Regions from separate parts of the Homo sapiens genome. Here regions 1 and 3 are each linked to region 2. Evidence: promoter capture Hi-C in 16 types of primary human blood cells and fetal thymus (Javierre and others, 2016). All regions are on one chromosome and are shown on one strand. The core of a region is centred on a gene start or on the middle of the fragment in contact, and the rest is flanking DNA. Distances in the headings are between cores, read along the strand shown. Region 1 overlaps RBFOX2 (RNA binding fox-1 homolog 2). Region 2 holds the start of RBFOX2 (RNA binding fox-1 homolog 2). Region 3 overlaps RBFOX2 (RNA binding fox-1 homolog 2).

Region 1 (3,178 bases), core at 220-2,719, 70 kb after region 2:
ACCTAGGTTTTTGAAAGACACTAGGTTTCTTCGAATTGGCTCTTCGTGATTTTGTGGTGTTGTCAAAAAGTCAAATCTGTGCTCAAATGGTGAGCTTTTACCCCATTTGAAGATACTTAAAGTCATGGGTTTAGGCTCTGAAGGCATTTTCATTTTCAGATCAAGGGCTCTTTAAATGTTTAGTTTAGCAGTGGCCGTGTTTTGAATGATGGTAGCATCTGAGGAATAAGAACATAGCCTTCCCAGGGCGACATCTTCTGAGGTGACCCATTTGGATTTATTTGTTCAAGTGTGTCTGTTAAAATCAGTGACATTACCATTGGGTAATGTGGGAAGCAGCTTTAGATGGTGTGTCTGAGGGCACAGACTCTTTGAAATCGGGTTGGTTCAAGTCTGAACCCCTGTTCTGCAGTTCACTCACTGACCTTGGACAAGTTAGTCTCTTGGTGCGTTGGCTTCCTCATGTGTAAAATGGGAATGATAGTGCTGTGAGTACCAACCTCACAGTGTGGTTTGAGGACTAAGTAAGCTAATATATAAAGCTCTTAGACATTTGGTGTGTTCTCAGTCAGTGCTTGCTGTGATTATTGTCGGTAATAATTATATATTTCTTTGAATTACAGAATTCTGAGGTAGAATGTGCCTGGAGATAGTATAGCTCAGTAGTCCCTGTTCTGTACAGTTGGCGTATTGTATCTGTGGGGTCCACATCTGTGCATTCAACCAACCACGGATTGAAAATAATTCAGAAAAAAAATAACAATGCAACAATAAAAATAATACAAATAAAAATACTAAATAACTACGTAGCATTTACACTGTATTAGGTATTATAAGTGATCTGGAGATGATTTAAAATCTCTGGGAGGATATACATAGGTTATATGTAAATACTGTGCTATTATACATCAGGGACTTGAGCATCTGTGGATTTTGGTGTCTGAGAGGGGTCCTCAAAACAGTCCCCCATGGACATCAAGGGATGACTGTATTGAAGTCAACCTGGACCTCATTCCAGACACTACTGAATCAAGGAGGGAAATCTGTAGTTTTTAGATTATTCCCAGGTGATTCAAATGATCGGTCAAGATTGGGAACTATTGAGTATAATCTGTTTACAGTATGGCCCCAGCACTAGAAGCTTCATTTCCTGGTAGATGCAGAAATCTCAGACGCCACTGTAGACCTACTGAATCAGAATCTACATTTTAACAAGATACCTAGTGACCTGTCTGCATGCTAACATTTGAGAAGCACTGCTTTTCTTCTACCAATGGGAATAATTGGGTGATAACCGCAGGTTAAAGATGAATTATCTCTCCATTTTTCCCATTGCTGGAAGGGAAACAGTGTGGCTAAACCAGTGTATAGATAATCATACACTTACCTTCCCTATTTCTTGGCCTAGGGGTAAATGCTTTTCTGGACTAAACTGCTGCGTAACATGTAACAGAAAGAACAGTTATAATTATGGCTCTGGCTCTACTGTTTACTAGCTATTTGGCCTGGATCCAGTCACTTAATCTCTCTGAGTCTGACTCTCCTCACCTGATAATGGAAATAATACCCAGAAATAATGTATATCAATTATCTAGCGCATTGCAGTGCCTGCATATGTCACTGGCTTTTCCTTTTCCCTTGCCTTCAACCTTTCATTGATAAATCTGTAGTGTAGTTCTAGTCCCTTAGAAAGGGCCACCAGTGGAGTCTCAGTACCATCTCATCTCTGTGGGCTCTTCTTGCCCTTCTCCCAGCTATCTTGAGTATTTAATTGTACTTGCAGAAAACTAAGCTTTACACAATATATATATATATATAGTTTTCTCTATCTGTTTCTGCAAAATGCCTTTTACTTAATGGAGACTATTATCTAAGAGGGCTAGAAGATGAAGAACTAAAGGATTTGAGTAATTGAGTTGATACAGGAATCAAAGTATAACGAGATATGACAGGCAGCTCTTTTATGAATTCTTAATAGTTGACCATTTGTTTAAAAAAATGTAATTCCTGGTTTTTAAAACTTGGCATCAAGAAAAAAAATCCTCGGTAGGTTTGAAGTTGTTTGAAGTCTTTTAGATTGGTTCCAAGCAAGAATTAACGTGGTAATTATCAGAAGATCACTGAATTGGTAAGTAATGAGCATTATCTTCTTTCTGACCAGGGAATTAATACAATAAAAGGAAGTTCAGGGACTTGCTCTGAGGACACTAGTAGTAGGTGGCAGAGAGTCTAGGTCAGAGAGTTGGCAGTTGTAGCCAGTAGGGCATTGGAAGCAACAGCAGCAGGAGGAAATAGAAAAGTCCAGTTTTACCCAGATCTTAATGGACTTAGGGATAGGCAGGATTGTGAACTCAAAGCATATAATAAAAATTGTTACAATAATAGTTTTTCTCTATGGGGTAGGTATACTTTCAGGTGCTTTGTATACCTTGTGCCTAAACTTAACATCCTTGCAAGGTGTAGACATGATCACATATATTTTATAGACCAGAAAATAAAATTGAGGCCCAGAAAGGTGAGTAACTTGTCCTAAGTTGTTCCTCTAATAAACACCAGAGCTGGTTTAACATCATGTTCAATAGCAATGTGAGTGAAGAGACTGTTATAAAACTCAATTGAAATAATGTCTATCAATTAAAATAAAATTTATTATTTTGTCTATAATGACTTTTTTTGGGGTAGAATTGTTAATTTAAATTTAGACTGTGATAGTCAACTCAGCCTGTCTTAAAGGGACTTTTTTGAATGTTGCAGAATGATCCTTTGAAATGTATTTCTTTTATACTCTGAGGCTAATTAAGAGGTATCTTTTGTTTTTTTAAATGCCAAAGCTTGTGAAGTCTTCAGTTTAGTGAAACACCAGTTTAAATTGAAATATCACAACACAAACTGATTTGTTGGTGGTTATCAATTGGCATATTTAGTCATAATGAGTATTCACATAATTGTGTCTGTTAGTCTGTTATTCCATTCAGATCCAGATGTAGATAATTATCAATGATTGCACAGAGTGAATCATGTATTTAGACAGATTTCTAAGTTACGGTTGGAAGAACTACAAATGAGAGGACTTGGGTTCCAGGCCTGTTTTTGTGACCTTGGACATGTCACTTGAAACTCAAGGGAATGAACCTGAGTTTCCATTATCAATCAAAAGAGAATAATGTTATCTATCTAA
Region 2 (2,941 bases), core at 20-2,519:
GACAGAGCGAGACTCTGTCTCAAAAAAAAAAAAAAAAAAAAAAAAAAAAATGCCTTCAGTCACTGACAAATGTGGGAGTGGAGGTGGTGGAATGGCAAAATTTCTCCTTGGTTGAAAGCCACTGATCCAAACCATCTCATTTTACAAATGATGGAGCTGAGGTCCAAAGAGATGAAGTAACTTGTTTAAGCTAGTTAGCAAAGCCAAGATTAGAATCCAGGTTATTCACGCAATATCCTTTTATTTCTATAACGTACAGGGCACGATATGGAACTCAGAGGAAGTCACTGCAGTCCTTGTCCTCACAGTCTGGTAGGGGAGAGAATCTATTGCACAGATATCTCTATCTCCACGAAGTTGGTAAGTCATAAAGTGCTCCTCAGGCAGCAAGGTACGAAGAAAGAGAATATGTTCTCGTGTTCTGAATTCCGGATCTGCCACTTTTTTGCTGCAGGATTTAACTAAGGTTCAGTTTCATCATCAATGAAATGGAGATCATGGTATCTACTTATATCACCAGTTTGAAACGGGTCTGTGGATGCATTGTGCAAACTCTAAAGCTCTTACAAACATCGGGTATTATTACTAACTTCATTAGGAATGTGAGTTATATTAGAGTAAAAGCTCTCAGAACTGGGGTGAACCATAGAGGGGTGGCTTCATTCCTCGACCTTCCAATTTGAGACATTTTTTCTTCTGCGGGAGGGGAAGCAGGCAAATAGCCTGCCTCTCACAGAGTGCCCATTCCCTCTCCGGGAACCAAGGTGCTCAGGCGAGTAAACTCAGGACTTAACTCTGTACAACTAGTACCGCAAGCAGGAGCCACTCCCTGGCCTTCGGGTCTCTCAAGCCCCGCCTGCTCCAGGATACGGCCCCGCCCAGAAAGGAGACAGACCCCGCCCCCCCCGCGCTGCCCCGCACTCCAGCCGCGCTGTGCCTCCAGGACAATCCCAGGCCCGTGCCGGAGATTCCCGAGCTTCCCCGATCGCTTCCCGGCCTCCCTCGGGCAGCCAGCGAGGAGACTACGGAGATTGCCGAGGGGGCCTGGCCCCGCCCCCCCCGCGGGCCGCCACCGCCCCCCTCGCCGTAGCCTCCCGCGCGGGCTGGAGTTCTACATCCCGGTCCCTCCCTCCCTCCCTCTTTCTCTCTCCCCGCCTTCCCGGTGCTGCCACAGTGGCGGGTCGGAGGATCCCGGCCAGTCAGCTCGTTCCTGCCTCGCGCCCCTCCTCCCCCCAAAATAAACAGCCCTCCCCACGCCTCGGGAGCCCGGACCGCCCCCTTCCTCCCTCGGCCGGCGTGCTGTGAGGGAGAGTGTGAGCCAGCGCGGCCGGTGGGCGAGCTCCGGGAGTGCGAGAGGCGGGGCGGCGCGGCGGGCCGGGCCGGGTTTCGCGTGTGCGTGCGGGGGCGCGAGCGAGTGCTCATCACGACCCGCCAGTGGCCCCGCGCCGACAACCCGGCGGGCGGGCGGGCGGGGAGCAAGCGGTCAGGCAAGGAGCGGCGGCCGCGAGGCGCGGAGGGGCGCGGAGTCCGCTCGCGCGCACGCACGCACGCACGCGGGGGCGGGGGCAGGCGCGCGCCCGCCTGTCGCGACAGTCGGGGCCGAGGCCCAGGGGGAGGTGGCCTGTCGCGGGTCGCCCGGCTCCCGGAGGCGAGGGGGGCGCGGGCGGATGGCGGAGGGCGCCCAGCCGCATCAGCCGCCTCAGCTCGGGCCCGGCGCCGCCGCCCGGGGCATGAAGCGGGAGTCGGAGCTGGAGCTGCCGGTGCCCGGAGCGGGAGGAGACGGAGCCGATCCCGGCCTGAGCAAGCGGCCGCGCACTGAGGAGGCGGCGGCCGACGGTGGCGGCGGGATGCAGGTGACCGCGCGGGACGGGGCGCCCAGTTATTGCGGGGGTGGGCGTGAGGGTCGACACCGGGCTCCCCGGCTTGGAGAGAGGGAGGGCCTCCGGGAGTCCTGGGTTGGAGGTGGGATGGGGGGCCATTCGGGGCCTGGTTGGAAGGTGGGGCGAGCTCGGGCTAGGAACGAAGGTTGCAGGACTGAACCTGGTGTGCCCGAGAGGGTCCTGATTCCTGAGGGGCCAGGAGGCACGACGAGTGGATAGGTTTTGGGGGGAAATCGAACAAGGTTGAGATGGATTCCATTTTTTCAAATCCTTCCTTAGTGCCTTGGGGTGGAGTGGAAGCCGGGAAATCCTGGCTTCTCTGGACTGAGTCGAGGAAAAGGAGATCTGGTGGGAAACCTCCCGAGAAGAGGGAGTACCTTTTGGCAGCCCTGGGCACACGCTGGGATGGGGAAGAGAAGTGGCATTTCAATGAGAGGAGTGAAAAGAAAACTCCTCGAGAGAGCCCCGAGGGGATGTGGCTGAGATTGTGGGTTAAATCACACAGAGTGTGAGAAGTACAAGGAGTTTGGTAATGTTATGGGGACACGGTGGTGCTCAGTCTCATTTACTTTGTGGAGCATACTAATGAGTCTGAAGGGAGACACTAGACATGTCCCTCCTGTTCTTTGCCAATTGCATTCTACATCACCAGGACACAAAATAGCTCTTTAATGTCCCGGGCTATAAAAAAAATTTTTTTATAGGGCTATTAGAAGACTGGATTCTCAATTCTGGATTGAAAGATAAACGTGGTTAATTTGGGTAGGGAATGGGAAAGGTATTGATGTCAGCTGACTTCATAGTTTTGAAGAAGACCTTGAAACCTTTGGAGGTTTTACGATTTGGTCTTTGCCCAGAAAATACTGCTATGACATGATGAGTCTCACCTACCAACAGTTGTGCAGACTTGTGCCTAATTCTCTCGGAGTCATAGGATGTTAGAGGGATGCTAGGAGGACTAGACATCATCTTTTCCAGGGGTTCTTAACCTGGGAAGACTTGGAAGATTCTTACTCATAGTAGGTGATGTGCACTTTTTGGTGGAGGAGAGTCAATAGTTT
Region 3 (3,189 bases), core at 223-2,722, 87 kb after region 2:
TTCCAGTAGCTTTTCTTGTAATTTCATCTCTGCTTTAAATGCCAGTTATTGTTTTTATGCTGATTAAAAACTCAGACTTGCATATCATTAGATAATCATAATCATCTCTGACCAGACGAGGCAAATCTTTCCCACTATTCGACTGGCACAAAATAGTTGCGGTTTTTACCATTACTTTAATTTTGCACCAGCCTAATAGTTGTCATGAAGTAGTAGAAGTATTGGGTATAGAATCAAGACCTAAGTCTGGAGGCATCTCAGCCACTGTCATTAGTTATTTGATTATGAGCAAATCACTTAAAGTGTCTGAAATTCAGTTTTGTCATCTGTAAAATGACATTTATAAAACTTGTTTTATGCATTGTGAGGACTAAGTGAGATATATAGTTGGTTTTATAAGTTATAAAGCAGTAAGAAACACTGACAACAGCTTTATTCTAAGTCATATGTGAATTTTACACAATGTAAAATTTGGGTAAAACATGTCCTTTCAACCTTCCACAAATCTTATTCTTCTCCCTAGAGGTAACCACTATTAGAAGTTTGTTATATATCCTTCTTTATATTTTCGATGCATTTAGTTACCTTTTTTTTTTTTTTTAAGAGATGGGATGTCGCTGTGCTGCCCAGGCTATCTCAAACTCCAGGGCTTGAGTGATCCTCCTGCCTGAGCCTTCTGTGTAGCTAGCCATTTCTGCTTGAGTGTTCTGTTCTGCTGTCATTTAATATGACCTGAGGTCATTTATAAAGATTTTACCTTATTTTAAAAACCTTGCAGGTGGGATGTTGAAATTTTGCAATAATTGATAACACTATTACCTTATTATTAATGGAAACTGAGGTTTTTTTTCCTAGTTTTTCACTAAGGCAAACAACACTGTTTTGAAAATCTTCGCACATGCTTCTTTGTCTAGATAGAGATGTGAAGTTACAGGAAGGTATATGCATTCAATATTTTGATAGTACTGCCAAATTACTTTCCATAACAGCATCCCAATATACTTATATTCCTACTATTAGGTGTGAGAGTATCTATTGACTCATCTTTTTGCCTATTCATGGTGTTTTCATTTTTGCTAATCTCATATGTAAAACATGGTATCTCAAATCTAAAAGAATGTTCGTAGGCAGCATGGTGTGAGCACAAAAACCATTAAGTGGAAACAATTCAATTATCCATTAACAGGAAAATAGGACAGATAAGTAATTTATTTGACATGTTTATAGTTTATAAGAGAATACTAAATGGCAATCATAGTAAAATACAGTTATGTGCCCTAGTGGAGGTGAATCTTACATAGTATTGAGCAAAAATGCCAAATTACTGAAGAATACCTGCAATAGGATCCATGCCTGTAAAATTCAAAATCACGCAAAATTAATGCATTTGTAAGAGACAGATATATACAGGGAGGGCTTGAGAGTTCCAAATAGCCTTATCTGAGAGGTAGGAAATAAAGAAGAGTGCTAAGGCAGGTGGAGGAGTAAATCCATTTCCTCTGACACATCTCTGTGCAACCTGTTATGACCAACTTTTCTATTGAAGTTTTTGACAATACTGGCTTATACGAATGTGATCTTTTCCTTATATTTTTTTCATTGTTGAACTCCAGGATTTTATGGAATATGGTTCATATGTGGGATGTCCTCTGGGAGTGATGAATTTCTGTTAATATGCTTTTGGGGTTTTTGATTACTTTCTTAATCAGATAATCCCCTTCTCAGACAATCATGAAATGTTTATTGTAAGGGAATAATATGGAATCATTAGTAGGGATGAGAACCTGGAAAAATGGAAAGAACAGGGGTTTGTAGTCCAGCAGACACAGGTTGGCAGTTTGAATTTCCCATTCAATATCTATGTGTTATTGGGCCAGTTACTTACCTTCTTTCAGTTAGTTTCCCCAGTGATAGGAAATATATTTTTGTATACTGCTATATTATCTCATTCTTTTTGCCTCTATCTCTTCCTCTTTTCCACCATCCTGGAACTGTACTGATTAGGTGCTTAATAACTGGGGGGTTATCATCATCATTGTTAAAATTTGTAGAGAATGGTGTGTGGAAGTAAATTTATAGAATCCAGAACAAACAAAAGGCACTTGTGCATTTCGGAAAGAGCCTTGTTCTTTTGTTAAAATCTAAACTGCATGTCTCCCCTATAAAAATCAGTATGAAAAATAGCCAACATTGCCTATAACTATTATTATTTTTAAATAACAGATTTAATGAGATATAATTCACAGACCATAAATCTCGCATTTATGAAGTGCTTTTAGTGTTTCAGTGGTTTTTAATATAATAATGGATGTGTGCATCCATCACTAAAATCTAACTCCAGAACATTGTCATCTCCCTCCAGATAAACCTGGTAGCCGTTAGCAGTCACTGCTCATTTCTTCCCGCTAGTCCCTGGAACCACTAATTTATATTCTGCCTCTATGAATAATCTGCCTATTCTTGATATTTCATACAAATCAAATTATATAATTTGTGGCCTTTTGTGTCTGTTTTCAAGCATGGTGTTTTCAGTATTCATCTGTGTTGTATCTGTACTTTATTTTTAAAATTACTGAATAATATTCCACTATGGATGTACCATACTTCATTTATCCATTCATCAATCGACGGACATTTTGGTTTTTTTCTGCTGTTTGGTTATTATGAAATAATGCTGCTATGAACATTCATGTATATTATTTTGTGTGGACATATGTTTTCAGTTTTCTTAGTTACATACCCAGGTGTGGAATTGCTGGGTCATATAACTCTATGTTTAATAGAAGGACTATCCAACTGTTTCCAGAGCAGCTATACCATTTTACATTCCCACCCGCAGTGTAGAAGAATTCTGATTTCTCCATGTCTTTGACAATACTTATTGTTGTCTGGCATTTTGTTTATAACCATTCTGATGAGTGTGAGTTTTATCTCAATGTGGTTTTGATTTGCATAATGACTTATGATGTTGAGCATCTCTTCATGTACTTACTGGCCATTTGCACATCTCTTTTGCAGAACTGTCTGAATTCCTACACATTTTCTGGTTATTTAGCTCCATTTATTTATTACACATTCTTTTGGGTGTCTACATGTGTTAGATACTGTGCTAGATCTCAGGGAAACCATGATGAACAAGACACAGGGTCTCTGCAGTAAGCTTAAGTTGTCTTCAGACTTCCATGCTTT

What was found. Contacts are between HindIII fragments. The CHiCAGO score rates a contact against its expected background, and 5 or more counts as called.
Region 1: a fragment that was not itself captured here is called in contact with the fragment with the promoter of RBFOX2 in region 2 in 1 of 17 cell types (endothelial precursors); the score reaches 8.6 in endothelial precursors.
Region 3: a fragment that was not itself captured here is called in contact with the fragment with the promoter of RBFOX2 in region 2 in 1 of 17 cell types (endothelial precursors); the score reaches 6.6 in endothelial precursors.

Annotation. Positions count from the first base shown.
Region 1 is chr22:35,957,600-35,960,777 of GRCh38, reverse strand. The region is part of intron 1 of RBFOX2 (RNA binding fox-1 homolog 2); the gene reads left to right. Among named protein-coding and RNA genes, the nearest start is that of RBFOX2, 70 kb to the left of the region's middle. The HindIII fragment of the contact is 651 bases long and covers 1,144-1,794 here.
Region 2 is chr22:36,027,152-36,030,092 of GRCh38, reverse strand. It overlaps RBFOX2 (RNA binding fox-1 homolog 2), which reads left to right and starts at 1,269. Exons shown (of 14, transcript NM_001349999.2): 1 at 1,269-1,853. The coding sequence starts at 1,668. RefSeq lists a silencer at 1,034-1,103. The HindIII fragment of the contact is 7,441 bases long and covers 1-2,941 here.
Region 3 is chr22:35,940,136-35,943,324 of GRCh38, reverse strand. The region is part of intron 1 of RBFOX2 (RNA binding fox-1 homolog 2); the gene reads left to right. Among named protein-coding and RNA genes, the nearest start is that of RBFOX2, 87 kb to the left of the region's middle. The HindIII fragment of the contact is 3,380 bases long and covers 1-3,162 here.